Linked DNA regions of Homo sapiens: regions 2, 3 and 4 are each linked to region 1. Evidence: promoter capture Hi-C in 16 types of primary human blood cells and fetal thymus (Javierre and others, 2016). All regions are on one chromosome and are shown on one strand. Each heading gives the region's core, a stretch centred on a gene start or on the middle of the fragment in contact. The rest is flanking DNA. Distances are from core to core; before and after follow the strand shown.

The links. The method cuts DNA at HindIII sites, captures the fragments that hold promoters and counts their contacts. A CHiCAGO score of 5 or more calls a contact.
Region 2: a fragment that was not itself captured here is called in contact with the fragment with the promoter of ALDH1B1 in region 1 in 4 of 17 cell types (non-activated CD4 T cells, naive CD4 T cells, naive B cells and 1 more); the score reaches 7.2 in non-activated CD4 T cells.
Region 3: a fragment that was not itself captured here is called in contact with the fragment with the promoter of ALDH1B1 in region 1 in 4 of 17 cell types (total CD8 T cells, naive CD4 T cells, megakaryocytes and 1 more); the score reaches 6.3 in total CD8 T cells.
Region 4: a fragment that was not itself captured here is called in contact with the fragment with the promoter of ALDH1B1 in region 1 in 1 of 17 cell types (naive CD4 T cells); the score reaches 6.1 in naive CD4 T cells.

The regions. Positions count from the first base shown.
Region 1 is chr9:38,390,573-38,395,865 of GRCh38, forward strand. ALDH1B1 (aldehyde dehydrogenase 1 family member B1) reads left to right here and starts at 2,130. Exons shown (of 2, transcript NM_000692.5): 1 at 2,130-2,235; 2 at 5,168-5,293. The coding sequence starts at 5,177. RefSeq lists a silencer at 1,897-2,216 and enhancers at 2,427-2,476, 2,517-2,606. The HindIII fragment of the contact is 5,526 bases long and covers 1,583-5,293 here.
Region 2 is chr9:38,050,630-38,058,140 of GRCh38, forward strand. The region is part of intron 1 of SHB (SH2 domain containing adaptor protein B); the gene reads right to left. Among named protein-coding and RNA genes, the nearest start is that of SHB, 15 kb to the right of the region's middle. The HindIII fragment of the contact is 472 bases long and covers 3,009-3,480 here.
Region 3 is chr9:38,103,243-38,110,753 of GRCh38, forward strand. No RefSeq gene overlaps it. Among named protein-coding and RNA genes, the nearest start is that of SHB, 38 kb to the left of the region's middle. RefSeq lists an enhancer at 4,569-4,748. The HindIII fragment of the contact is 2,334 bases long and covers 3,591-5,924 here.
Region 4 is chr9:38,121,535-38,129,045 of GRCh38, forward strand. No RefSeq gene overlaps it. Among named protein-coding and RNA genes, the nearest start is that of SHB, 56 kb to the left of the region's middle. The HindIII fragment of the contact is 2,135 bases long and covers 2,577-4,711 here.

The DNA of each region.
Region 1 (5,293 bases), core at 880-3,379:
TTCTTATCTGAACTAGGATTTTGCCACATGGTTATCTGTCCTTCCCTGTACTCCTCCAGTGATGGGAGGCCCACTGCCTTTCAAGGGAGCCCCTCCCAGCCTTAGCCAGTTCTGCTTTTTCTGGGAGTTATTCCTCTGTATTCTTCACTGGTCTGGCTCTGCCTTCTAGGACCCCACAGATCCTATCTGGTTTTGCCCTTCAGAGATTTGGACGGCACAGCCTTGTCTTTCAAGTTCTAAAGGGTGAACATCCCAGTTCCTTCAGCTGCTCCTCAAGGGGCACAGCCTCCAACCTTGCCGCATGGGGGTCACTTCCTGTCTGCAGCTGGCCTCTCAGACCTGCCACAGTTTCCAATGCACTCTAACACGAGGACTGATACTCATTTTGCCATAAACTCACTCCCTCTATCAATGAGGCCTCTTAAGGATTGGTCAGTTAATCATTAAGTCAATCAGTCCTGGAGTGCTATGCCAAGTGCCCAAGGGGAGCTAGGCTGTCCACGTGCTGTGGGGGAGGCAGGAGGGCCTTGGCAAGGGGCTCATGCCGTTGCTGGAGAAACCCGAGGAAAGCATGGGCATCAAGGTGATAAGATGCCAATCATAGTGCCTTCATGGATGGCTAACTTTTGCAGCAAGGGCTGTGAACATGCTAAGGATGATATGGTAGCAAAAGATTCCATAGAGATGTAGCTTAAGGAAAGAACTAAGTGAATTAGGTCCAAGCAGTCGCATGTGAGCACCCTAGATCAGTGGAGAGGCAGGGATTTAATACAAGGAACTGGGTGCTTACAGACCTGCTGCAAGTGCCGGAGGCAGAAGCAAGCCTTAGCCAGACCAGGACCAACTCTCAGGACAATATGGACGTGGCCCACCAGCCTCGTGCCTGTCTGAGGCTACTTCAGACACCCTCCTGCAGCCTCCATTCAAAGAGCAGGAAGCCAGGTCAAGGAGCGGCTACAGCCACAGCGGCCGGTCCACAGCCAGAAAGCTGGAGAAGGGACAAGGAATGCTGCCGCAGAACATCTCCCATTTCTGCTATCCTGCTAGTGCCACCCTACAGGGGCAGGACAATACCCTCCAATGCGTGCCCGCCTTCCACATCCGGCAGAGTACTACTAATTGGCAGCACCTAGTCCACATCCAGAACTCTAACTGCAAATGAGGCTGGGAAACATGGCGGTTAGCTTTGGGACCTCCCTAGCCAGAAGGAAGGTGCAGCGAGGGTGGAGCGAGTGAGATGCATGTTCAGTGGTCCATCTTGGCAACCTTTATAGCAACAAAATGGAGACAATTAAATGTCCAACAGTTTACCCCTACAACAGAATTCTATGCCACCTTGGAGAGGATGATGTCATCTGTAATTAGTGATAGGAGAAAACTTCAAAATACAGCGCTAAGTTTTTAAATTTTTTTTAAAGCAGCACAACAGAGGTTACTATATGATTTTATTTTTATTAAAATAATTTTGAAAGATGCAGAGGAAACAATACTAGCAGGACGAACACCGTAATAATGGCTACCGTAGGTGAAGAGATTACAGGTGATATTTTTCTTCTTTTTTCATCCTTTCCTGTGTTTTCCAAGCTTTCTACACTGTGCATACATTCTTTTTGTCCTTAGGACAAAAATGTACTTTGAAAAATGCCCAAATATAAAATCTTCTTGAAGGAACTGAAGAAAGGAGCAGTGAAAGTGGAGGACAGAAATTAGTGAATCCTGGACAAAAAAAGTGAGGGAGAGGCGAGGCAGAGAAGGGGTTAAGGGGAGTCTCAAGGATGGCAGTCGATTAAGCAGCGTCTTGCAGCGGGGAGAAATGCAAAGTGTAGTTGGGGTTCGGTCTCCGAAAACTTTGCTGTGTGACCTGGGGAAGCCCCTGCCCCTCTCTGGGTATCTCTGTTTCCGCTCCCAAACCAGTGCCTTAGGAGCCTAGATCTGAGCAACGTGGACACTGGGCTTGCGGAGACCCGAGGGAGGGAGCGCTGAAGCGGTGCGGGCTGCCGGGGGTAGAGGGGCGGGGACCGGGAAAGACCGGGCGGGGCGAGGGAGGAGCGGCCTTGGCCGGCGACAGGACGTAGGCAGCGCCCCAGGCGCAGGCGGAGCCTCATTGGCCGCTGAGCCCCGGGCTGCGCGGAGGCGGGACCTGCGGCCAGCCCTGGGCGGCCATGTGGACAGAGCTGGGAGGGCCGGAACCAGAACCCAAGCGTGATCCTGAACCGGAGCCCGAGCCTGCTGCAGGTAACTAACGCTGGTCTCCCCTCGGCTCCCTCGGGAAGCCGCAGCTCCTGGCTCCGCGTGGGGGCTTTCCTCTCTGGGCCGCGGCGTCCGCATCTGGGGGCTGGCCTTTCCGCCGTTGCACTGTAGGACTCTCTCCACGTCCCCTAATCCCATCCCCCGCCTCTGGGTGACGCTACAGGAGCCCCGAGGACACAGACGCCCCCAGACCTTACCACGTTAGCTCGACCTCAACACTCCTGCCCACTCGGCCCACTTCAACAGAGGGCCCCTGACCATAGCCCAGAGGCTTGGACAAGCCCAAAGGTTGCGCCCTTTCCCCCGCAGAAGGGGTGAGGTGGGCGCCGCTGCAGTTCCCGCGGATAGAGAAGGTCCGGTCCTTCCCGCTGTGGGTGAACTGTAAAAAATTGCCTGTATTCAGGAGGATATGCAAAGCTAGGTTTGTGGAAGTCTGGGGTGAGGCTCCTATACTTTCTTGCTGTGTGTCCTCGGTGAGTCCCTGAACCTCTCTGATGCCCAGCCTTCTTCCAGAATGGGGGTCATCATCAACCCTGACCACCCAGGGACTGCAGAGAGGCTTGGCAAATTTCCCGTGAGAAGACAGCCTGCAAACTGTAAAGCATGATGCTCTGTGAGCTGTGATCTTCCTATCAGCAAGTGGAGGCCCCAGCAAGAACCCCATATAGGCCCCAAGAGTAGGAACGGCCTTGGTGTGGCTGCAAAGGTTTGCCAGCCTTGGCCTATGACCACCTCTCCTGACTGCTTCACCCCTCCAATCCTTACCCCATGGGTTGGTGACTCCCCTTTCCCCTACCTCCTTTTGGTCTCCTCACCCTCAGAGCCAGGCCTGTTGGTGGCAAGGGGGCTGTGTCCCAGCATATGGCAAAGTCCTGAGCTAAATGGAACCCTGGGCACCCCTGGCAGATCTGCTGACTCAGCTTCCCCCTGTGGGATATGATGAGGTTTCTCTTCAAATAATCTGATCAATCTTTTATTCTTTAATTCTTAGTATCCCCCCCTTTTTTTTTTTCATTTTTCTCCTTTTTGCCTTTGTTAGATGCCCAGGCATGCCACAGTACCAAGCGTTATCAGTACCAGCTCACATTCCTTTGCTTATTTGGAAAGAAGACTAACTTTCTAGCTCATTACAGACACCCTTTCCCCTTTCTCTCCACTTTCTTTTACGTGCCCACTCTATCTAAAATAAATCAAATGTTTAGCCAACCGGGATTAGTTTAGATTGTACGACCTGACCCCAGCCAATGGGGAAAGGGTACAGGGGCAGGACTTGCATCAGGAATAAAGGCTCTCGTGCCCCTTTGTTCAGGTGTGCTCTCATGGCAACTGGCCAAGGAGGCATCCCTCTGCGCAGAAGTAAAATTGCTTTGCTAAGAATCCTGTGTTCGAGTGTTCAATTTCCTTAGGATTTTGAGCATTATTCCTAACACCCGCAAGGGGAAGGGAAACTTTCTTGGTCAGCATTGATTATTATTATTTTTTTTAGATACAGTCTTGTTCTGTTACCCAGGCTGGAGTGCAGTGGCACAATCATGGCTCACTGCAGCCTCAACCTCCTGGGCTCAGGTGATTGCCCCCACCTCAGCCTCCCAAGCAGCTAGAACTACAGGCATGCACCACTATGCTCGGCAAATTTATTTTTGTTTTTTTGTAGAGACACGGTTCTTGCTATGTGCTCAGGCTGGTCTCAAACTCCTGGCCTCAAGCAGTCCTTCCACTTCGGCCTACCAAAGCGTTACCAGCGTAAGCCACCACGCCCATCACATTGATTTTTATGGGGCCGGGGACCTACATGGAGCCTTGCTTTCCTGATTGAGTTTTTTGTTCCTCTCCCTGCCCAGGGGTGGAGGGTGAGAGGCTGGGGGTGAAGGGACAGGCAGGTGCAATTCCATTTTACCGCTGGGCGGAGCAAGACTCATGAGACATCAAAGGCAGAGAGATTCAAATTCTGACTGAAGAATAACTGCTTCAACTAATCTGGGAACACTACACTCTGTTTAATTTTCATTTAATATGTATTATATGCCGTTTAAGTTTTATAACAGTAGTTGTTTTAACGAAGTCTACACTCTTCAGAGTTGTAGCTTTTCTTCTCAGCTGCCTCCTGACTTGCTGCACCTCTGGGAAAGCTGAAAAGGGATGCTGAGACCTGTGGTTGGGGGATGCTGGGCTAGGTCAATTTCTGAGGCACGGCCAGTTCTGATGTCCTGAGTGGAGCTTGCCAGGGTTTTTATATGCAAGACATCATTCAACATAACCCCATGAGGCATTTCACATATGGGGGAACTGAGGCACAGAGGTGAAATGAAGCAAGTCCCTCTCAGAGAACAACCATCTCCAAGTCCCTTTGATTTCTACTCAAGTCTTAGGTCAATTCTTAGACAGCCTTTGTGGCAATTTCAGTGTTTTCTCAGTGTATCATTCAGTACTGTGTGTTGAGCCGCTGCTCTGTAGCAGGCATACCTCTAGGCTCGGGGACGTAGCAGTGAATGGAACAGAAAAATAAGTTCCTGTGCTCATGGAGCTTGCATTTTACTGGGGGGAGACAGACAAACATATAAGCCTGTAAAGATAGTATTTGGGATGTGAGATAGAGAAGGAGTAAAGCAGGGTAGCGGGGATAGAGAGTGTTGGGGTGGGAAGGGTTGCAATTTTTTAAAGGGTGGTCAGGGAAGGCCTTGCTGAGACAGTGGCTTTTGAGACCCAGCAGAGGTGAGGGAGTGAGCTGAGGATAGGCGGGACGTGATGGAGTTGGCCCAGAGAGTTCATCAGGGCCCTCACAGCTCTTACAGTCTGTGTTTTTAGAGGTGACAGTCCTTTATGCTGGAATCTTGAAATGTTTGAGCTGGTGGGCCCTTGGGTACCGCCACCTGCCTTCTCCCACCTGTTCACCCTGGTTTCTTTTGTCCCTCTCCAGAGTGTCAGCATGCTGCGCTTCCTGGCACCCCGGCTGCTTAGCCTCCAGGGCAGGACCGCCCGCTACTCCTCGGCAGCAGCCCTCCCAAGCCCCATTCTGAACCCAGACATCCCCTACAACCAGCTG
Region 2 (7,511 bases), core at 1,995-4,494, 340 kb before region 1:
CAAGCATAAAATGACTCTCAAAATGAATGAATGTATACAACTGAAATTTACTTTCAGAGTAAGAAATGCTTGAATATATATGGAACTAGAAGCTGCCGAATGTTAAGAAATCCAATACTCTTAAGTGTCTGCTAGTCTGTAGAAAACAGATGTAATCAGAAGAAACCATCAAAAGCAAAGGGTAAGATATTTTCAAGGATAATCATTCCCAAAAAGGCCAGGCAGATACAAAAAAAAAGAGAGATTTCTAATTTGGGGGTGATGGGAGAAAACACACAAAAAAGAACGTGCCTTCACTCCTCAACCACTGACTACAATCTTTTACTACAAACTGCTTATTTAGCATCCTCTGAATTGTCACAATTTTTGCTCCCACTGGAGGCTTCAAGTCTAATCATCTGTAAGGATTCCTCAAAACAGTTTGCCTGGATAAAGAAAAGTTTCTCTGCCTTTTCAAAACCAGGCCCACTTCTACCCTAGTTTGCAGGTGACAAAGAATCTGAGTCGAAGTTGCACACAAAATTCAAGGCAGGCCAGGCAGGGTGGCTCATGCCTGTAATCCCAGCACTTTGGAAGGCGAGGCGGGCAGATCACGAGGTCAGGAGATCGCGACCATCCTGGCCAACATGGTGAAACCCTGTCTCTACTAAAAAATAACAAAAATTTAGCTGGGCATGGTGGCGCATGCCTGTAATCTCAGCTACTCGGGAGGCTGAGGCAGGAGAATCGCCTGAACCAGGGAGTCAGAGGTTGCAGTGAGCCAAGATCGCGACACTGCACTCCAACCTGGTGACAGAGTGAGACTCCGTCTAAAAAAAAAAAAAAAAAAAAAAAATTCAAGGCAGAGGGACAAAGGGCAAGTAGGCGAGACCTCAAAGCATGCCCGGGTTGAGTGTCTGCACTTTGACAACCTTCAGGCCCAAGGCCTGGGAATATCATCCAGGCTGTGACAGCGTTCTCAGCTGTCCTGTGGGTGATGAGGAAGTGATGACACCAACTCCCACCATCTCGTCACTTCACAGTCACACCACAGATGGCTTTCAGATGATCCAGAGCCCCACAGAAGCCCGGCAAGCAGGAGCTGACTGATGGCAACATTATTCCTAGATCTTTACAAAGCGTTTCTTCTGAGCCTGTAAAGCGAGCTCTGCCGGTCAGAGTGGCCCTCTGATGGAGTGGTGAATGTGTAAGGAATTGTCCAGGGATCTTCAAGGGGCTCTTTGACTGAGCCCAGCAAACATCTTCATCGTGGCTAACATTTCTTTCCCTCTGGGGACCTAAAGGAGGCTGAGCACTTACTGTTTTTCGAAGAGCTTCTCCCTGCAAGGACGTCCTCTGAAGATCAGCATCCCGCGTTGGCTCAGAGCCCTGGTTTTCCCTTTCCCTTCTTGCACTGCTGTCTTCTGAAGACTTCAACTACGACACCAGCAACTTTACATGGCTTCTTTCTAACTGCCATCATTTGCCTGGACATCCTGGAATGTCTCTAACTCCACGAGGTGCTGCCATCAGATGGGAGAGCTCCATCTCAAGGGCAGGTGACTAGCTCTGTCCACCCCCAGAACACACACAGCCCCCTCCCCATCTCCTTAGTCCCCCACGTCTTTCCTCATGGATGGGCTGCTTGGTAGCTCTGTCCTTTCCTGCTCCATGTTTCAGCAGAAACAAGCAGTCTGACTTGTACAAGGCCTCCTCCGCCCAACTCTCCAACCAGCAGAGCCATTCCCGGCTCAGACTCCGTGACCCCAGCACATGTTCCGTCCGGCTCTGACAGAATGTGGACAAATGCTCTGATGGACTGAGTAACTCACAAACTCCCACAGAGGACGTTTCGGCTATTGACAGAAAAATCTATCCTCCTGACAAGCGCTCGGTCAATTTCTCTCGATTGCCCAGTGTCATCTGAGAGCTGCCTGAGCAGTCAGTTGCAGTATTTGAGGCCCTTGGTGCCTCTGCCTAAAGCATTCCATGTCCTCCTAACTGGGTCCCCACCTCCATGCCCAGCTTAGAGCCTCCCCACCCCCACTCCTTTCTAACTATCCCCTCAGGCTACAGACATACAGGTGTCCCTAAAGCATGAGGCTGACCCTTTCACTCACTCCCTCCACTACCTTTCTTTACCCACAGAATAAAGACCAAACTGTGGCCTGGCCCTGAAGGCCTTCCCACACCTGGCTTCTCCTCCATCATCTACTAGGGACCATTCAGAGGGCCCCTCTCCCGGGATGTCCTCCTCACATCCACCAATCTCTAAATATCCAGATCCTCCTTATGCATGAAGGCCCAGCTCCCATGCTGCCTCCTCCATGAAGCTTTCCTTGATGCCCCTTTGGCAGCATTGTCCTGAGAATGTGCCTATGGGGAGTACCTGGCCCAAACTAGACACTTTATCGACAGTAGAGACCTGTGGTTTCTATGACAGTAGAGACCTATTCAGCTGATAAATGGCCATCAGCTGACACAGAGCTGACCCGTCACTGTCCCTTGCATCTGTGTAACATAGACTGACTGCCTGGCTGGAACCCCAGCTCCAGCTCTACCCACTACTAGCAGTGTCATCTACGATAAGATACAAACTTGTTTGCCTCAGTTTCTCCATCTGCAAAATCAGACTCTTTTTTTTTTTGAGATGGAGTCACTCTCTGTTACCGAGGCTGGAGTACAGTGGTGCGATCTCAGCTCACTGCAACCTCCACCTCCCGGGTTCAAGCAATTCTCCTGCCTCAGCCTCCTGAGTAGCTGGGACTACAGGCGCTTGCCACCACGCCCAGCTAATTTTTTGTATTTTCAGTAGAGATGGGGTTTCACCATGTTAGCCAGGATGGTCTACATCTCCTGACCTCGTGATCCGCCCACCCCAGTCTCCCAAAGTGCTGGGATTACAGGTGTGAGCCACCACACCCAGCCAGAATGGGACTCTTAATAGAACTTGCCTCCTATGGGGTGTTGTGGGAATCAGTGAGCTAACATACCTCAAGCTCTTAGAACAGAGTGGTGATCCCAGGTAAAGCTTAACCGTAAGCAGACCCACCAAGATAAGGATAGGTTCACTCTCTGAGGACCACATCATCAGCCCAGACAGGGCAACCCCACTGACTTTACTGTGGCTATAGAAAGCCCAAAGTTCAAAGCTGGACTGAGGCCCAAGACACACAGGCCAAAATAATATAAAACATTCATAAAGCTCTTCCTAAATGCTAGGCATTGTGCTCAGCCATTTCAACAAATGATTTTATTTAATCCTCACAACGACCCAATGTACTTCCCCAGAACCTCATCTCCCAAATGCCTTACCATCTGTAAAATGGGGATTCTCACAGCAACACCTCAAAGACACACAGTTAAGGATCAAGTACTGAAAGTGTTACCTATGGTGACACAGAGTGAATGGTCAGGAAACACCATCTGTTACTATTCTACCTACATAGAAGATGGGGCATTCCAGGCCCAGAGAATTTTATCACTTGTCCCAAGTTACTAAGCTTCCAAGCACCAGGGCTAGGATTTGAGCTCTGGACTTCCGACCCTAAAGCCAGTGAGTGTTTCATGCCACCACAGTGGGACACACTTGGGTTCTGCTGTGTCTGGAGCAACAGCCCTGGGCTCCTGTGGTGTATGACCTTGTCAGCTAGCCCCCACAAGGGGCCAAGAAGCAGGACAGGGAATGCCCAACCCTGACATCACACTGCTTTCAGCCACGCAACCTCTGCTCCACTTGCTACCTACTCCTCTGGAATCCACTCCTGACAGCTCCTTTGCTGAGACTCCCCAAATCCACCTGGGAATCTGACCTTGTTCCCCATCCAGTCACATGCCTGCACAGTTAACACCTCAGTGCCAACCTCAACTCACCCACCGGGAACCTGCTCTAGCCTATTACTTCATGCCCACAGGAAGCTCCTAGACTTGGGCTCCATCAAGACCTCCACAGTTGTGACATCAAAGGGTCCTTGCCCTTAGCAGCTGGGGTCCTGGCTGGGAATCTGGCTCTGTGGGCAGTGTTATAGCCTGCAGCTTCTCTCTGCCTTTGAAGATACAATCGCACATCTGAGGGTCCTTATATGAGAGAAGCAAGGTTAGACTGGTTCTACTTGACCTCAGAGAGTCAAACCAAGACAGTAGTAGAATCTACAAAGAAAAAGAGTTCAACCAACGAGTTCCTGTGAATACCAGGTGCTCAAAAAGCTAGAGTAAACATTTAAAATAAAAAAAAAGTCAACCCCAGCTGTGCAAAGGTGGCCGGACAAAAGGTAACAAATCTCAACATTGGAAGTTTTCAGCATGGATGGAAGAGAGTTGGATGGGGTGATCCCCAGCTCTCTGGGACACCAAAGGTCAAGGATAGCAGCTTTCTACCTTGGCTGCAGATCACAATCATCTGGGATCTTCAAAAAATACTGATGCCCTGGCTGTATCTCCAGAAATTAATTAATCTGGGATGGGAGCCTAGGAAACTGAAATTTGTAAAATGCTATGCAGGTAATTTTACTGTGCTGCCAGGACTGGTCCTGGGTTCAGTGACGTGATGTGAGTTAGGCAGACACCTTCAGCCTCTTAGAACCACAGTCATGTTCGGCAGTGTTCAGAAATCTGCATTTTTCCTGGATTTATTCCCCATGAACACTCCACGACTTAATCTTTTCCTTTAATACCAATTTGTTTATGTCATCAACCTCACAGCAAACACTGCAGGATGGATTTTCCTAACACCAGCATGAACCAGAAAAAGAGAAACAGGCTATAGTGGTCTGGAAAAAAATCTCTCACTGATTGAAGACACGGGACACCTGGGTTGATGGTGGGCCGAAAACGGTGGGGTGCAGAGGAAGAACCTGGTGACCTGAACTTTTTGCAGGTGTTAAAAAATTTGAGTGACCAAAATCGTGTGGCCCACACAGGCCACACCTTCAAATCCTACCCATTCTGAACTCTCCCACCAGCCATACCCACCTCGCCCAAATGCTTCTCTTGTCTGCTCAGGGAGTCATTTACCTGCCTGCCTATGCTGGCAATGAATTCCTCCCTCTCCAATACCCACTCCTGGGCTCTCAGCTAGAGCACCCAGGCTTAACTGTCTCTGATTGTTCCATAGGACTCAGCCCAGTGCTGGAATATGGTTGGATGACTGAACGCTACACCCACTCTGTGAAAACTGAAACACTCGCTTGGCTCAAGCCACATGGGCAGGGCAGACCACCGTGATTGCCTCAAATACACCTAGACAGCCCAGCCTCCGGTATCAGAGGAGGATGCCGACTCCACCAGAGGCAAGACAAGGCTGTCTTGGCCACATCCCACACACCACAGCAGGTTTGGCATTCTGCTGTGGTGGGTAAAGATGAAGCCCTAGTTAATACCTAGTTACTTTCCTCAGATGTCAGGAGTTGAATGTGTAATAAGCGCATGGGTATCTGCAGAAGAAAGTTGTCATTTTATAAAGACAGGCCTTCATCATCATTATCATAATCACTGATGAGACCTAAACACTGTCAGGGCAAGATGGAGTCAAAATATTTAAGTCTCAAAAGGTACCTGAAGATCATGAGCAAGCAATACAGGGTACCCAGACACACACTAGCCATTTGGAAAATAAGATGACAACCATACCTCATACAATGAAATCAAACTCTAGGGGGATGGAAATTTTAATGTAAAAAAAAAATCCATCAAAGTATTAGAAGAAAATATAAATACTACAGTAGGGAAGACTTTGTTTTTTTGAGACAGAGTCTTGCTCTGTCTTCCAGGCTGGAATACACTGGCGCAATCTCAGTTCACTGCAACCTCTGTCTCCTGGGTTCAAGCAATTCTCGTGCCTCAGCCTCTAAAGTAGCTGGGACTACAGGGGGATGCCACCACACACAGGTAATTTTCTGTATTTTTAGTAGAGACAGGTTTTTGCCATGCTGCCCAGGCTGGTCTTGAATCCTGAGCTCATGTGATCCACCCGCCTCAGTCTCCCAAAGTACTGGGATTATAGGCGTGAGCCACCGCGCCCACATGGGAAGACTTTTCTCAGCAGCATGCTCAAGAAATCATGAAGGTGGAGACTGATTAAATAGAAAACAATTCATTGTAACCAACAACAATTGCCACATATAGAACCAAAAGGCAAATTACAAACTTTAAAAAATGTTCTGCAACCCAAATGGCAGGTAAGGGGCTGCTATTGTTAATCCACAAAGAGTTCTTACAAATCAACAGACAAAACCCTGCAGCAGAAAAGGATGAACAGATGATAAAGTAAACAGTTTTGGAAAAGCAACACAAATGGTCAACACACATTTGCACCAGGAATCCAGGAAACTGCAAATGCAACTAACTTGCATTAGAATTCCGAGGATTGTGTGAGAAGGGTAAAACAGGTGTCAACTTGTAAGGTCTTTCTAGAACACAATTTGAAAGTATGTATCAGACTTTTTACTGTCTTATCCAACAATTCTCAGAATCAACCCCAAGGAAATAATCACAGACCTATGCAAAGAATTAAGTTACAAAGATGTTCATTACGGCACTGTTAAATTGGTGAAAACGAGGAAAAGCCCAACATGTGAACAGAATACAATGCAGCTATTAAATTACAGTTGTTAAATATTTAAGATATTGTAGACATCTTTCCATGTCTTTACGTTTAAAAAAATATAGACGGTATCACTTAATTTTTGTGGCGAGAAAAATAAACATATATATATATGCAATGAAAAATGGCTAGATGAAAAAGTAGTAAAATGTTAATGGTGGTTTCTTTGAATTACGGAATTAGGGTTGGTTTCTGAGTTTTGCTTACTTATTATTTTCTATACCAAACTTGTCTTAATTTTGTTATAAGGGGTAAAAGGTTAGTCAAAAGATAAATGTGGAACTACAGCTCAAAATGCAAGCTGGTCCCTTTCTGAGGAACCGGCTCAGAGCACAGCCAACTTGCAAGGGCCCCACACAGGGCAGGTAGGCACCATGCCATTCCGCAAATGCCATGCAGTCCCCGATCACATGTGTGGCTTTGGAATGCACCAGAGGGATTACCGGGCTGTCTGGCTTTCTGGGAGTGCACATCCAACAAGATGGTAAAGTTTCACTGTTAAGAACTTTCTGATGATTTTCATTTTTAGAATTTAGCCGTGGCCTGGAGAAACCTGCAGACTCTCATTCCTCCTAGTTCTGTTTGCATTCTCCCCATAGCCCATGTACCAGTGAACCCACAATATAAGGGACCACTTCCTATCAGAAGCAGCCAGCAATGAAATGTTCTGCTGAGCAAAACAGTGGCTGCTCCAGCCCTGTCCCTGGAGACTTAATCGCTGCACTGTCTCCACCGCCCTGTGGTGCCCAGCTCAGCCATGCAACATAGCAGGTGGCCTCTTTTGAATTAGGAGTACTGGGGCAATTTCAGACTAGTGGCAGGCAGGGCCTGGCCCTTTGCCACCTTCCTCTATCCCTGGCAAATATACCATGGCATGCCCCAAGCTCTGGCCACCCCTGACTGCACACAGCAGAGTTCCCCTTCCAATCTC
Region 3 (7,511 bases), core at 3,508-6,007, 280 kb before region 1:
GGACAATAACAAGTGTTGGCAAATTGGAACCCCTCATACATTTCTGGTAGGAATGTAAAGTGGTGCAGCCACCTTGGAAAACAGTGGTGGTTCCTCAAAAAGTTAAACATAGAGTTATGTCTTAGCAATTCCCCTCCTAGGTATACACCCGAGATAATTAAAAACATGTTTAAACAAAAACTTCTACACAAATGTTGATAGCATTATTCATGATAGCCAAGTCAAAATAAAATGTCAATCAATAGATAAGTGGATAAAGAAAATGGAGTATACACACACTGGAGTATTATTCAGCCAAGAAAAGGAATAAAGTGCTGATACATACTACAATGTAGATGAGCCTTAAAAACATTGTAAATGAAGTCAGACCCAAAAAGTCACTCATTGTATGATTCCATTAATATGAAACAGTCTTAGTTAGCAAATGCATAGAGATAGAAAACAGGTTAGTGGTTACCGGTGCTGGAGGGAGAGAAAAATGAGTAAGAGCTAATGGGTGTGGGTTTCCTTTGGGGTGATGAAAATGTTCTAGGATGAGATAGTTGTGATGGTTGCTCAGCTTTGTGAATATACTAAACCCCACTGAATTGTATACTTAAAAGGTGAATATTTTGGTGTGTGAATTATATCTTAATTTTGAAGAAATGAAATGACCCATCCCAAAGCAGGAGCACTAATAAAGGTCTCATGGACTGGAATATGCTTGGCAAATCCACCAGACACAGATTCCTACTGTAAGGAGGGCCCTCACTTGCAGGCAGACAAGTCCCCTTTGGGATGGGAGGGGACTTAGATCAGAGGTCAGTGGGGCCAACCCTGAGCCCCAGCCCCCTGTTACGCCTCCCTGCCAAGTGCTCATCCGACCTCTGCTTGCTTGCTTGCCTGCCTCTTTTGACAGGGAGATCATTTCTGTTGAAGACAACCCCGTTGGTCTTAAACAACTTGATTTTTGAGAAGTTCTTTACTAAGAAAAAAAACAACTTCTTCCTGTAGCTTTCTTCTGGTTCTGTAGCAGAGCTGGTTCTGGCTCTGCCCTCTTAGACACAGAGAACAGGTCCATTCCCTCCCCTCCCTGACAGCCCTTCACGGACTGTCATACATGTATTCACTACAATCCTATGATCTGCTACTCTTTATCTTTAAGATCCTGGGCACAGCGGGCACTAGAGGGCCTGAATTGCCTTCATCAAAGCAAGAGATAATTATGTATCGCCATAATGCATTTTAAAAAATAAAAACAACCATCTACTTATGAGAGCTTTCCTAACAAAACAAATCTGAAGACCAAGAACTAAACTAGGAAGTTCTTTGAGCCTTTCAAAGTGGTGTCAGAGTATGGGCACTTAAAAAATAGATTCTGTCTAGCCTTTATTTTTATTTTTATTTGTTGATGGAGTCTCACTCTTGTCGCCCAGGCTGGAATGCACTGGTGCGATCTCAGCTCACCACAACCTCTGCCTCCTGAGTTCAAGCAATTCTCCTGCCTCAGCCTCTGGAGTAGCTGGGATTACAGGTGCCTGCCACCACGCCCAGCTAATTTTTGTATTTTTAATAAGGACAGAGTTTCACCATGTTGGCCAGGCTGGTCTTGAACTCCTGACCTCAGGTAATCCACCTGCCTCAGCCTCCCAAAGTGCTGGGATTACAGGTGTGAGCCACCATACCCAGCCCTGCCTAGCCTTTTTACTCTTTGTTTACATATAGTTCTAACACATTTGGCTGCCAGATTACTAGGCCATGGTGAATCCAAAAGGAGATGGAAGCTTCTGGAGGCAGGCTCCTCATTCCACCCTTTAAGTGATCTTGACTCATCCCCCTATTGGTTATCCCATACAAAGCTGCTGTTGGTGCCTATGCCGTCTGTGAAATTGTTCTAGGTCACCTTCAAATGGCCTGCCCTGTACTCCTCATCTTCCATTTTCCTGATTCCTATCCACCCCACCACTGCCCAGCCTTTTGTCCTCACACCTGGCCACTTCAATTGGTGGCCAGGTTTTGAACAAGCTATTCAAGCTGTGATTTTATTTTATTTTATTTTATTTTGAGACAGGGTCTCCCCTGTCACCCAGGAGTGCAGTGGCGGGATCATGACTCACTGCAGCCTCGACCTCCTGGGCTCAAGGGATCTTCCCATTCAGTCTCCCAAGTGACTGAGACTACAGGTGTGCGCCACCATGCCCTGCTAATTTTTGTATTTTTTGTGGAGACAGCATTTCGCCATGTTGCCCAGTCTGGTCTTGAAGTTCTGAGCTCAAGCGATCTGCCTGCCTCAGCCTCCCAAAGTGCTGGGATTACAGGCATGAGCCCCTGTGCCAGGCCAACTGTGATTTTAGTATTCAGCTTTTCCACTTACTGGTGGCATAGAAGTCACTTAACCACATTAAGCCTTGTTTTGTTTTAATCTGTAAAATGGGAATATAATGATTTCAATCGCACACATTTGTGTGTGAACGGTAGATGCCATAGTGTGTGTGAAGGAATAAGCAGTCACCAAGGGCAGCTGTTCTGATGATCTGGCCTCTGTTTGCCTGCACCATGGCAGTCGGTTGTGGCGGTCCCCAAGGGGAGACCTTGCTCTAAGCAGGCCCAGGATTTCAAAGGCAGGATTTAAGAGGACAACTGTGGTCATAATGGTAGTTGGAAAGACAGAGGTGAGAAAACTTTAAAACTCAGGCACTAAAGGACCCTTGTCTGGGTCCTTTAGCTCAATATCCCCTATCAACCTCCAAGAGTGTCATCTCCATAAAGCATCCTAGAGCCTAATGCCTGTGACTGTCCTCCCTTCATTTCCTAAGCAAAAGCGTATTGGTACTCATTTTGTGCCAGGTACTCCTGCCAACTGGAAAGGTAGAGATAGAGACCTCTGCCTTCAGGGGGCTCCCATTCTTGTTGAGCCTAAGTCAGGGGAGGAGGAAAAGAATAATAATTTATAGATACTGTTTAGGCTGAGCCTGGTGGCTCATGCCTGTAATCCCAGCACTTTGGGAGGCTGAGGTGGGCGGATCACCTGAGGTCAGGAGCTCCAGACGAGCCTGGCCAACATGGCAAAACCCCGTCTCTAATAACAAATACAAAAATTAGCCAGCCATGCATCTGTAGTCCCAGCTACTTGGGAGGCTGAGGTAGGAGGATCGCTTGAACCCGGGAGGCAGAGGTTGCAGTGAGCTGAGATTGCACCACTGCACTCTAGCTTGGGCAACAGAGCCAGACTCTGTCTCAAAAAACAAAACAAAAGACATTTTATGGTGTGTTTTAGAAAGATTTACCTTCAAAATGATTATACTTCTTAGTTTATATCTGAAATAATTATAGTTTTAAATATTTTAGCCAAGGGAAATCTTCAGTTATCATTCAATTTCGTTTAAGTGGAATGGAGAGTATCAGCTTTTGCTAGGTAACGATGAGTCACATTTAATGAGTGTTTACCATATGTCAGGCTCTATCCTAAGTGCCTTATAGTTCTCTTAAGTTCTTTGATCCATAACAGCCCTATGCAATGGTACAAATATTATTCTTGTATTGAGTATGAGGAAACTGAAACACAGAGGGGTTTAGTAACTTGCCCAAGGTCACATAGCTAATAAGTGGCAAGCTTGGATTTGAACCCAGGGAGGCTGGCTCCTGAGAGAGAAGGAGCTCGTAAACACTATATTTTAGGGTGTCCCATATAACAAAGACTTACTTTCTTTGGATTTTTTTACCAAGTGATCATTCATGTAATGTATGTATGGACACTGTCACAGAATGTGCAGGTCAGTCAGGACAAAGTGGGAAAATCGGACACTTGATATCTTGATTCCTTCCTTTCCCCTTGCGATTTTACAAAGAAGGAAATTAAAGCCCAAAGACGGGGCAGGGGACCGGCCACCACCAGGAGGGTGATGGGCTCCCTGCCTCCCTCACAGTTTTGGCCGGGTGCAGTGGCTCACACCTGTAATCCCAGCACTTTGGGAGGCCGAGGCAGGTGGATCACTTGAGGTCAGGAGTTCAAGACCAGCCTGGTCAACATGGAGAAACCCCATCTCTACTAAAAATACAAAAATTAGCCAGGCATGGTGGTGCATGCCTATAATCTCAGCTACTCAGAAGGCTGAGCGGGAGAATCACTTGAACCCGGAAGGTGGAGGTTGCAGTGAGCCAAGATTGTGCCACTGCACTCTATCCTGGGTGACAGAGTGAGACTTTGTCTCAAAAGGAGAAGAAAAAAAAAAAAAAGGGCCCAAAGACGCATAATGACTTCCTTAAGGTTACAGCATGAAAACCAGACTGGAGGTCAGAACTCAACCCCCAAGCTGGGCTTTTCCCAGTATCATTCTTCGTTCTTAATGAGCCCTGTATCAGACTCTTAAGTGGTTCTGAACTCTCTTTCTCTGTCTTTGTTTCACAGTCCAAAGTCTTCTTAACCAGAAAGTGCATTTCCTCTTCAGTACCAGTAACCCCTGGTTCCAACTGCGTCAAAAACACTCCCTAGGCTTTCTCATGGCTGTCTTACCTGCTTTGCTGGGGCTATTTATGGAGGAAGAGCACAGGATCTGTTTTGCCTTTCATCAGAGTCAGGATCAGAGCAGAGAGGCTAGGACACAAACATTGAACCCCGAGATCCGGACCACATGACTAGGGTGGCGGAAACTGGGGCCCAGCCACAGCCAAAGCCATGGGGAGGCCATGCCAGCACAGCCATCACCCCATCATCTCCTCCCCTGGCTGTTCGTCTAATCCTCAACAGTGCTGAGATGCCACAGACTAGAAAGTGCTACAAGAAACCACACGGATTTGAGTGTCACAGTTGTGTGTGAAAAATACTGAACCAACTCTGGACTGGGAGTCAGGAGGCCTGGCTTCCGGGCTTGGCTCTTCCACTGACCAGCTATGAAGGTCTGGGCAAGTTGACACGCCCCTCTGGGCCTCTGTTTTCTCATGCGTGATAAGAGGTTAATCAGCTGCTTGCCTATCCTCACAGGATTACTGTGAGGCTGAAAAACAAAAGTGACAATGCTTTGGAGATAACAAAGCAGTGTAAAGATGTAAGGAATATTGTCATTGCACTGAGCTGGACCCAAGGTAGCAGCAGCTCTGGATCTCCTGCCCTGGTGATAAAGAGTTGTAGAAAAGGCTTTATCCACTCCCTTCTGCCATACCAAGACCTGCTCCCTGGAAGAGATTTGGGCAGTGGGAAAACAGAGCCCAGCCTGGGATTGTTTCCAACACCATGTGTTGGCTCTTTGGAGCACTGTGCCAGGAGTCAGGAGCCTGGGCTTTGGGCCCTACTCTACTGCAAACAAGCTGTGTACCCCAGCTGGGCTACAGTGTGAAAACCTGACTCTGCTAGTGTGGCCTCCCCATGACTGTGCCCAGGTCACCCCAGTCACATGGTCTGGATCTTACGCCCAGCATTCCTTTCCTAGTCCCTGTGCTCTGATCCTAACCTGATTAGAGCCAAATGAATCCTGTGCTTTCCCTCCATAAACAGCCCCAGCAAAGCAGGCTGAGCTAAGTGCTGCCACGTAGCCTCTCTTGGCTTCGGTCAGCTCTAAAAGTCTGATGCCACAATCAGATCATCAGCTTGAACACAGGGAGGTGGATCAGCTCTGAGATCTGAGGAAGGGGAAAAATGGTGGAAAAATACCTACTAAGCATTAGGTCCTTTCCATGTAATTGATCTCACCTCATTTATTCAGCCCACGGTTATGCCAAGCTCTGCGGCTGGTGCCGGGTACCGGCCATAAACAAGACAGACCTGGTTTTCTGGAGATTACAGTGAAGCAGGAGAGGTGGGCGTAAAACAAATGTTCACACAAATGCAGAATGACAATTGTGGTAATGGTACAAGGAAGAGAATAGAGCTATGGGGAGGGACCTAACCAGCCCATTATGGAGCTGAAACTTGACAGAGAATAAGTAGATGCCCAGCTAGAAGGGGGCTAAGCTTCCATGCAAAGGGAACAGGCGTGAAGGCCCTGAGGTTGGAAGGAGATTGCCATGACCCAGAGACCAAGCAAGAAAGCAAGTGTGTGTAAAATGTGGTGAGCAAGAGGGGCTGTTGCTGGCACTGATGTTGAGGGCCTGGCTGAGCTCTTTCTCTTGGCTATACTCAGAAGCAGAGGTCTTGATCTTAATCTTGGCATTCCCCCCTCCACCCCCACCCCCCCCTTTTTTTTGAGACAGGATTTTGCTCTGTCACCCAGGTTGGAATGCAACAGCATGATTATAGCGCACTGCAGCCTCAAACTCCTGGGCTAAAGTGATCCTCCTGCCTTGGCCTCCCAAAGTGCTGGGATTACAGGTGTGAGCTCCCCTAATCTTGGCATCCCTTTACCTTGGAATATGAGCTCCACTGACTTAGATTTTCTGCATACAATTAGAATTTCTTATTCTCTGGACAATCTGATTTATCATATTCACCAAATTTGATAAACATTCACTTTTTTTCTGAAAAACAGAAAAAAAAGACTCGTCCCTGCTCTTCTGGTCCTTGTCTGGAGGACAGGCTGAAGAGAGGGCAGCTGGTGGGGCAGACACTTGATTAAGAAACTCAAGCAAGGCTGAGATGCATGCCACAGAAGAAGCGCAAGGGGCCAGGGTTCAAGGACCAGGTCTGACAGTTACAGGAACTTGTCGTGTTAATGGCCACATCTTTGTAATGCTTGTCATTCCCGTGTGGGAGAGTTTCCAGGGAAAAGTATAATTTAAGCTGAGCCTTGAGATGTGATAGGACTGTTTATTTTTAATACGTTTTTCCAACTTAAAAATATATGCGCCTAAAAGAAAATTTGAGAAAAAAAAGGACAAAGAAGATAATTATAACTATCCTTAATCCAGAGCAACGACAGTAAACATTTGAGGGAGTATCCTTCCAGGCTTCGTATCTATGTTTAACAACATTGAAGTCATTGTATATAGACAATTCGGCAGCACTTTCATCTTTCATTTCACACGTCAAGGGTCTTTGCCTAGGCCATTACATGTTCTTTAAAAATACAATATTTGATGGCTGTTTAATATTCAGTACTTTGGGTTTGTGTAATCACTTCATTATCAGATATTTTGGTAGTTTCCAAATTGGTTGCTACTATGAATAATGCTGAAATGAGCATTGAAGTACATAAAACCTGTGGTGGCATCTGGGTATTCCCTTAGGGCAGAATCTGAGGAGTGGAACTGCTGGGTCGAAGAGTGTGAACATTTCTATGGCCTTGGGTATTTACTGGCCCATTATGTTCCCACTCACATTGTAGGAGCTCCTCTATCTCACTGCCACCCACCACCACTATTTTCATTTTTAAATCTTTGCCATTTTGATGGAAGACAATGCTGTTGCTGAAGAATGCCTTTCTTTGACTAAAGATGAGTCTGACTTCGACCAGCAAAGTGCGGGAATGGGGAGGTGAGGAAGGGCACTGAGAGAACAGTTTGCTGCTGGCATGGTTCCTTTCCAGGCAGCTCTGTGGAGGTGTCAGGAATGTTTAGGAATTGCACCAAGGCTGTGTCATGTCACGGGTAACTTCTTCTCT
Region 4 (7,511 bases), core at 2,394-4,893, 270 kb before region 1:
GCAAGCTCTGCAGCAGACCTGCCATTTTGAATCCTTCAGTGGAGAATCACAGTGTCCTCAGGGATTCTGCGGCATCTTACAGGTGCCTCTGTTCTAGACTTTCATGTTCTGCCTTGCTTTCAGTTATTTATTTACACATCTGAGGTCCTTTACTACATCAAAAGACCCTTGAATGCAGGAACCATGCCCTAAACATCCTTCTATCTTACACAGCTCCTTGTTCAGTGTTCAGAAAATAACTGAATTGTGATCACTTGGCTAATTGGACAGTTTTTCCACCTTGGGAGCAACTACCAAAATGACATTGGTTTCATGTAAGTTGAAAGAATTTTAAAAGTTATCTATTAACATTTTTTCAACATATCCAATTTTTTTATATATATATATATATATATATATATTCAAAAACAAAAAGAGCTTTATGAATTTTATTGATTATAAAGTTGATAAATATGCATAAAGAAAATGTAAATGATACACAAAAGCATAAAGAATAAATTTAAAATCACACAAGATACTATCTCCCAGAGGCAGCCACTGTTTACATTTCAGATAATCTTTCAGACATTTCTCTATAAATCCAGCTATTATTAATGTATAACTTTATAAAAAGGTAGTAAAAAATGCAACATAAGCTAGCCCTCAGAGTAATAAGTTCAAAAGAATTTAACAGTTGAATAAAATGTGTTTTTTTTCTTTTCGATAGCCTAAATGGGTTCTCTGATGTTCCCTGAGGGATTAAACAACCACTCAAGATTTTCTTGGGAAACTTCTACCTGCTTTCTGTCTCTCTTTTCTTGAGATAAAATTGACCTGCCGTAAAATTCGCCATATAAAGTATACAATTCAGTGGTTTTGAGTATGCTCACAGGGTTGTGCAACTATCACCACTATTTAATTCCAGAACATGTCCATCGCCCCAAAAGGAAATGACATACCTTTTAAGCAGTCACTACCCATTCCTCTCTCCCTCCAGCCCCTAGCAACAAATAATTTCTTTTTTTTTTGAGACAGAGTCTCATTCTGTCACCCAGGCTGGAGTACGGTGGTATGATCTCGGCTCACTGCAACCTCTACCTCCCAGGTTGAAGCAATTCTCCTGTCTCAGCCTCCCAAGTAGCTGGGATTACAGGCACCTGCCACCACGCCCAGCTAATTTTTGTATTTTTAGTAGAGATGGTGTTTTGCCAGGTTGGCCAGACTGATCTCAAACTCCTGACCTCAAGTGATCTGCCTGCCTTGGCCTCTCAAAGTGCTGAGATTATAGGCATGAGCCACTGTGCCTGGCCACTAATTTAGTTGCTGTCTCTATTTTATTTCTGTCTTTATGGACTTGCCTATTTTGGACATTTCATGTGAATGGAATTATATAATATGATGCCTTTTTTATCGGGCTTCTTTCCTGTAGCATAATATTTTCAAGGTTCATCTATGTCGTAGCATATGTTAGTGCTTCATTGCTTTTTATGGCCAAATAATATTGCATTGTATGGATATACCACATTTTGTGTATCCATTCATCAGTTGATATACATTTAGATTCTTTCAACTTCTTGGCTGTTATTAATAATGTTGCTGTGAACATTAGTGTAAAAGTTTTTATTTCAGCATGTGTTTTCACTTTTCTTGGGTATATACCTAGGAATAAAATGTCTGGGTCATGGCTAGGCATGGTGGCTCACACCTGTAATCTCAGCACTTTGGGAGGCCAAGGCAGGCGGATTATGTCAGGAGTTGGAGACCAGCTGGCCAACATGGTGAAACCCTGTCTCTACTGAAAATACAAAAATTAGCTGGGCGTGGTGGCAGGTGCCTGTAATCCCAGCTACTTGGGAGGCTGAGGCAGGAGAATCATTTGAACCCAGGAGGCAGAGGTTGCAGTGAGCCAAGATGGCGCCATTGCACTCCAGCCTGGGCAACAGGGCTAGATGCTGTCTTAAAAAAAAAAAAAAAAAAAAAAAATCTGGGTCATATGGTAACTCTGTAGTTAACTTTTTGGGGATCTGCCTATATAAGAGTTTCACTTTTTCTGTGTCCTCAGCAACACTTGTTATAGTTTTCTGGTTATAACCATCCTAGTGGGTGTGAAGTAATATATCATTGTGGTTTTGATTTGCTTTTTTTTTGCTTTTTTTTTTTTTTTTTTGAGACAAGGTCTTGCTCTGTCACTCAGGCTGGAGTGCAGTGGCACAATCATGGCTCACTGCAGCCTCAAACACCTGGGCTCCAGCAATCCTCCTGCCTCGGCCTCCCAAGTAACTGGGACTATAGGTGTGTGCCACCATGCCTGGCTAATTAAAAAATTTTTTTTGTAAAGACAGGGTTTCACTATGCTGCCCAGGCTGGTCTTGAACTCCTGAGCTCAAGAGATCCTCCTGCCTTGGCCTCCCAAAGTGCTGGGATTGCAGACATGAGCCACTGTACCCAGCCTGCAGTTTTCTAATGACTAATAACATTGAGTAATTTTTATGTGCTTATTGGCAATTTATATATCTTCTTTGGAGAAATGTCTATTTCTTCACATCCTTTGTCCACTTTGTAACTGGGGTATTTGTTTTTTATTGTTTAGTTTTTAAAGCTTCTTAAATATTATGAACCACTGTAGACCTGATTTGCAAAACATTTTTCCCCCATTTCATGGCTTTTTAACTTTCTTGATAGTGTCCTTTGAAGCACAAACATTTTTAAGTTTGCTGAAGTCCAGTTTGTCTGTTTTTCTTTCCAGGGTGTGTTTCCTGATACGTCCTCACAGGATTGATTTTTCTTTCTTTTTTTTCCTTTTTTCTTTTTTTTTTTTTTCGACATGGAGTCTTGCTCTGTCGCCCAGGCTGGAGTGCAGTGGTATGATCTGGGCTCACTGCAACCTTCACCTCCCGGGTTCAAGCAATTCTCGTGCCTCAGCCTCCCAAGTAGCTCCCATTAGGTGTGCATGGCTAATTTTTGTATTTTCAGTAGAGATGGGGTTTCACCATATTGGCCAGGCTGGTCTTGAACTCCTGACCTCAAGTGATCCACCTGCCTTGGCCCCCCAGAGTGCTGAGATTACAGGCGTGAGCCACTGCGCCTGGCCGGAATTGGTTGTTTTAACCTTGCCCCAACCAGACTGTCTTCTGCACTCTAACTGCCCCTTCTAAGTCTTCCAGGCAGCCTGGGCCCCTGAAACACTGGGATTCCTCATTACCCAAGGTTCTTCTGTGTTTCATGGTGATCACTACATCTTCACCACATAAGACACTTTGGATTGACTTCAAGACTCACCTTGACATTGGCTTGAACACTTTCTCCAACTTCGGCTCCTGTAACAAAGACTCTATTGATTCTCCCTCCACCTCTCTCTGCCCCTCTGTGACTCCACTCTGGACTCTTCATCTTGCTCAGGGTTTGCCGTACTCTCACTTTTCTCTCTCTCCTCTCTACTTTCCAGTGTTCACCTGGTTTGACTTCTTCAATGACCTCCTCTCTTTCGCTCCTTAGTGATGGAAGGCAACACAGTGAGACCGACCTGGGTTTGCAGCCTGGCTTGGAAATTTGCAAGCTGGGAACCTTGGACAAATTTATTTATAGCTCTGTTCCTTTGTTTCCTCATCTGTCCAGTAGGGGTAAGAATAATGTCTTCCAAAGGAGCTCTTGGGAGGCTAAAGGAGATATCATAAATACCCTGTGCCCATGATACGTGATAGAGTAAGGGCTCAAAGATATTCACCATCGGTGCCCCACTATCACTTCAAACTCAGCCTGTCCAAGCCAAGCTCATAATTTCACTCCAGGCTAGATCCTTCTGTCTTTTGCCCCCTTCATCCTGCTAGTGCCCTCACTTTGGGGTCACCTCCTACCAGGCCTTGTTCATTTACGATAATATCATCCCACGTGTGTCCCACATCGCCAGAGCTTGTCCATGCCCAGGCTCTTGCTTTCTTTCACCCTGGAGCCCCAGTCACCTGATCCTGCTAACTTTTGTTTCAAAATATCCCCTTCTCCCTCTTTTCTTTCCACCATCAGGGCCCCTGTCCTAGCTGTGTGCTCACTGGACTCTGAGTGGCGGAACAGCCCCTGATACCACCGTGGCCCACCTACCTCTGATCTCTGGCCTTTAGATTTGGCTCTCACAGGAGCTAGGAGTCCAGGCACCTTCCTGTGTTTTCTACAGCTCTGATTCTTTTTCCTGGCAAGTTGGGGCCACACACTAACCTGGCAAAATGTGGGAGAGGGAGCGAACTGTAGAATTTGGAGGTGGGAGCTCCTGATTGTAGACTAGGCTTGCCAGGGGATCCAGCAAGTCCTTTATGGTTTTTGGACCTTGATTTCCCCACCCGCACAGTGGAGATGAAGAATTTCTCAGTCTTGAAGGCCCCTGCCTCCTCTGATGTGTGGCGATTTATCACTTGTGGTCTCTTCCAATTACGAGGCTCATTCATGGGGCTTCTGAGAAGTCCCTTTTCGCTCTCTTCCTACCTTGACAGATTTGTCTTCTAAGGTGAGTTTCTCTTTTGCCGAGTCCTTCTCAGACCTCATTTCCTATCTCTGACTCACTCCGCTTGGCTTCTTCCCCTACCTTATAGCCTAGGGTGTGTGCGTTGATGTACAAATGTGTTCTGATAGTTGGCATAGCTTCTGCCTCTGTGTTCTCTTGGTCTTGCAGACAGTCTCTGCCTCCTGTCTCTCCTATTCCATCTCAGCCCCACACTGACAACAACCCATGGGATCTTTCTAAAGCTTAAATCTGAGCTTGTCACTCCCCTGCTGAAAAAACTTCGGTGGCTCTCTAAAGCCCCAGGATCAAGGTTATCTCCTTACCCTCCTTTTCAAACATCCCACACCCCTCTACAGTCTGGTCTCAACCTAACTGCTGTACTCATCTGCTCCTGAAGAGATGGGCCCCCGATTCCTTTGCTGATTCCATCCCTGTGCATGGAGTGTGCCCTCCTCTCACTTCTGTGTCCAGTGACATTCTGTGATGTCACCCACTGGGCCTCAGATCAGCTGTTACTTTCTTGGGAAGCTTCCCTTGATCTCTTCATTCAAATAAAAATGCTGTTACTTGTACATTCCTGCAGAATGTTATTCACTCTGCGGAGAAGGATCATTTTCTTTCTTCTTCATCTCATGATAAAGGTGGGGGCAGTGTCTGATGTGGCCAGGTGGTCAGCACATCGGTGCTGCTCAGTATACATTTGGTGACTAAGGGAATGGCTTCTTTATGGACTTCTGGCTTTTGTCTCCCTCCCCAGCTGGGCTACTTGAGAGGCCTCCTTTAATCTACCCACCATAGATAGATCCTCTTGAAGGGCAGCTGGGTTCATCTGCTGCCAAGCCCAACGTATGTTCCACATTTAAACAAAGGAACAGGAAGAAGCAAGGATTAGTGCAAGATGCTAGTCATTGAGCACACAGACACCTGCTGGCACAGGGACCTTTGGCAAAATCCCCAGCAAGTGCCCACAAAAGCCAGTGGTCGATGGTGCCCACAGATAGGATTCCCACCGGCTGAGCTGCGGAGCCTGAGCACCTGCATCCTTCCAGTTCTAGAGAGCTGGAGCTGGCGCTTGAGATCAATGTGTTCCAGCCCACTCGTTTTATAGATGCAGAAGCTGAAGCCCCAAGAAGGCTTCCCAAGACCACCCAGCAAATCAGGGCAGCGCTGGGAAAGAAACTCAGGGCTTTCATTGCCTGGGCCCGTCCATCTTCACCAGGCTGTGGGGTTTTATGAGTACTGTTGTAATTCCTGGATGTTTTCCTTCACGAATAGGGATTTCCCTAGAGCTGGATTAATATGACCTTGAAATTGGCACTTATCTTTGAAATTCCAAGAGCAAAATCACTGATGGAGGGAATGAGGGAGGGGAGAGAGGGGGAGGGGAGAAAGGAAAAAAAAGGAGAGAAGGAGGAGAGAAAGAGAGAATGAGATAGGGACAAAGAAAGACACACGGCCAGAAAGAGATAGAGATGAAAAATGATCAAAGCCCAACAAAGAGATCAAAAGAGAGTCAGAAAGAGACCACCAGACAGTGCGTGAGAGAGATGGGAAGCAGAGACGAGGGAGACTACAATAACAGAGCCCTCTCTACAACTGCCTGCCTCCTTCCTCCACAGGGCCCCTGGGAAATCCTTCAAAGGCAAGTGCAGCTGTTGCCAGCTCTGGGTTCTGTGGGGCCCATAGGATGACGTGGCCTGAGGCTTCATCACTGGAGCCTGGGGCTTCAGCTTTCCAGGTAATGCGTGGGTTGCAGCAGCTATGGGAGTATGAGGTGGGGCTCTGAGAACAGTGCTGAGGGGCAGGAACATCTGGCCCTGGTCTGGGGTCTGGTGCTGCCTGGCTGGGGGTCTTGAGGAGGTTTTTACTCCAGAGCTTGGGTCAGCTGGTCCCTAAAGTTCTCCTAGCTTTGAAATTCCTGACTGACTGAGCCCATGGGACCTAAAGATAAAGGGTTCCATCCCTTCTTGGATGCTCATCCCTAACCACTACTTTGGGATCATGTCAGCCATCAAGGATGTGGTCAGAGAGGCATTGTCCACCGAAGGAGACTAACTTCACCTATTGATTTCTCCAGCTAAGAAATCTTCTTGGTAGAAATGTGAAATTACAGACCATCAGAGCTGGAGGGTACCAGGCACGTCTTTCTTGAGTTCCTCATTGCTCAGACAGGGAGACAGACTCAGAGAGCCCATCATCAGGCAGGAGCTAGAAGGTAGAACTTGGATCTGCTGGCCCGGTCATGGACCCCAGAGCACCAGGCTGCATGCTGAGTGGCAGCGAGGGAATTAGACAGGTTTCTTAGGCAGCAAGAACAGCCAAGTCCCCAGAAACATCCCCATAATTTGGGGAGGGATGGTACTGCTTCTCCCTTCTCTTTCCCTATTTAGGCTGTTTCAGAGCCACTTGGACTGTCCAATTTCACTGCCCAGGAGCTAGTTCAGCGGCAGCTGGCTGCTCACTACCCCTTCAATCACCAGGAACCCAGACTTTCAGCTCCTCTCTCTCAAAGGCCGGCCAGTCCTCTGGGCATAGTCTTAGAGGAGGCTGCCCCATGACTGTGTTTTGGGGGTGCTGGGTAGTGGCTGCAGAAGGCAGCAGATGGGGGTATGTTGAAAAGAAGGAAAGGGTGTTCAAAAGATGAAATTCAGACATACAAATCCGTCTATATTACCCACCACAAGTCACCAAATGGTGGAGTGGACTTTCTTTCATAGACATTCTGAGGCTTTTTCTTTGTTTCTTTACGTATTCATTCAGACACATATTCATTCACTCATGTAACCAACCAACCAGTCATTCATGGTGTGCATGTTCAGTTGTGGTGATGGTGGAGGTGGAGGGGGTGCATTGGTGGTGATGATGGTTGTGGTAGATAGGTTGTGTTGGTGCTGCTGGTAGGGGTGCTTTTGTTGGTGGTGGGTGGTACTGATAGGTGTTGGTGATATTGTGTGTAGTGGTGGTAGTGGGTGGTTGTACTGATGGTGGGCGGTGGTGGTCGTAGGTGAGTGTTTCTGTTGTTGGGTGGCATTGATGGATA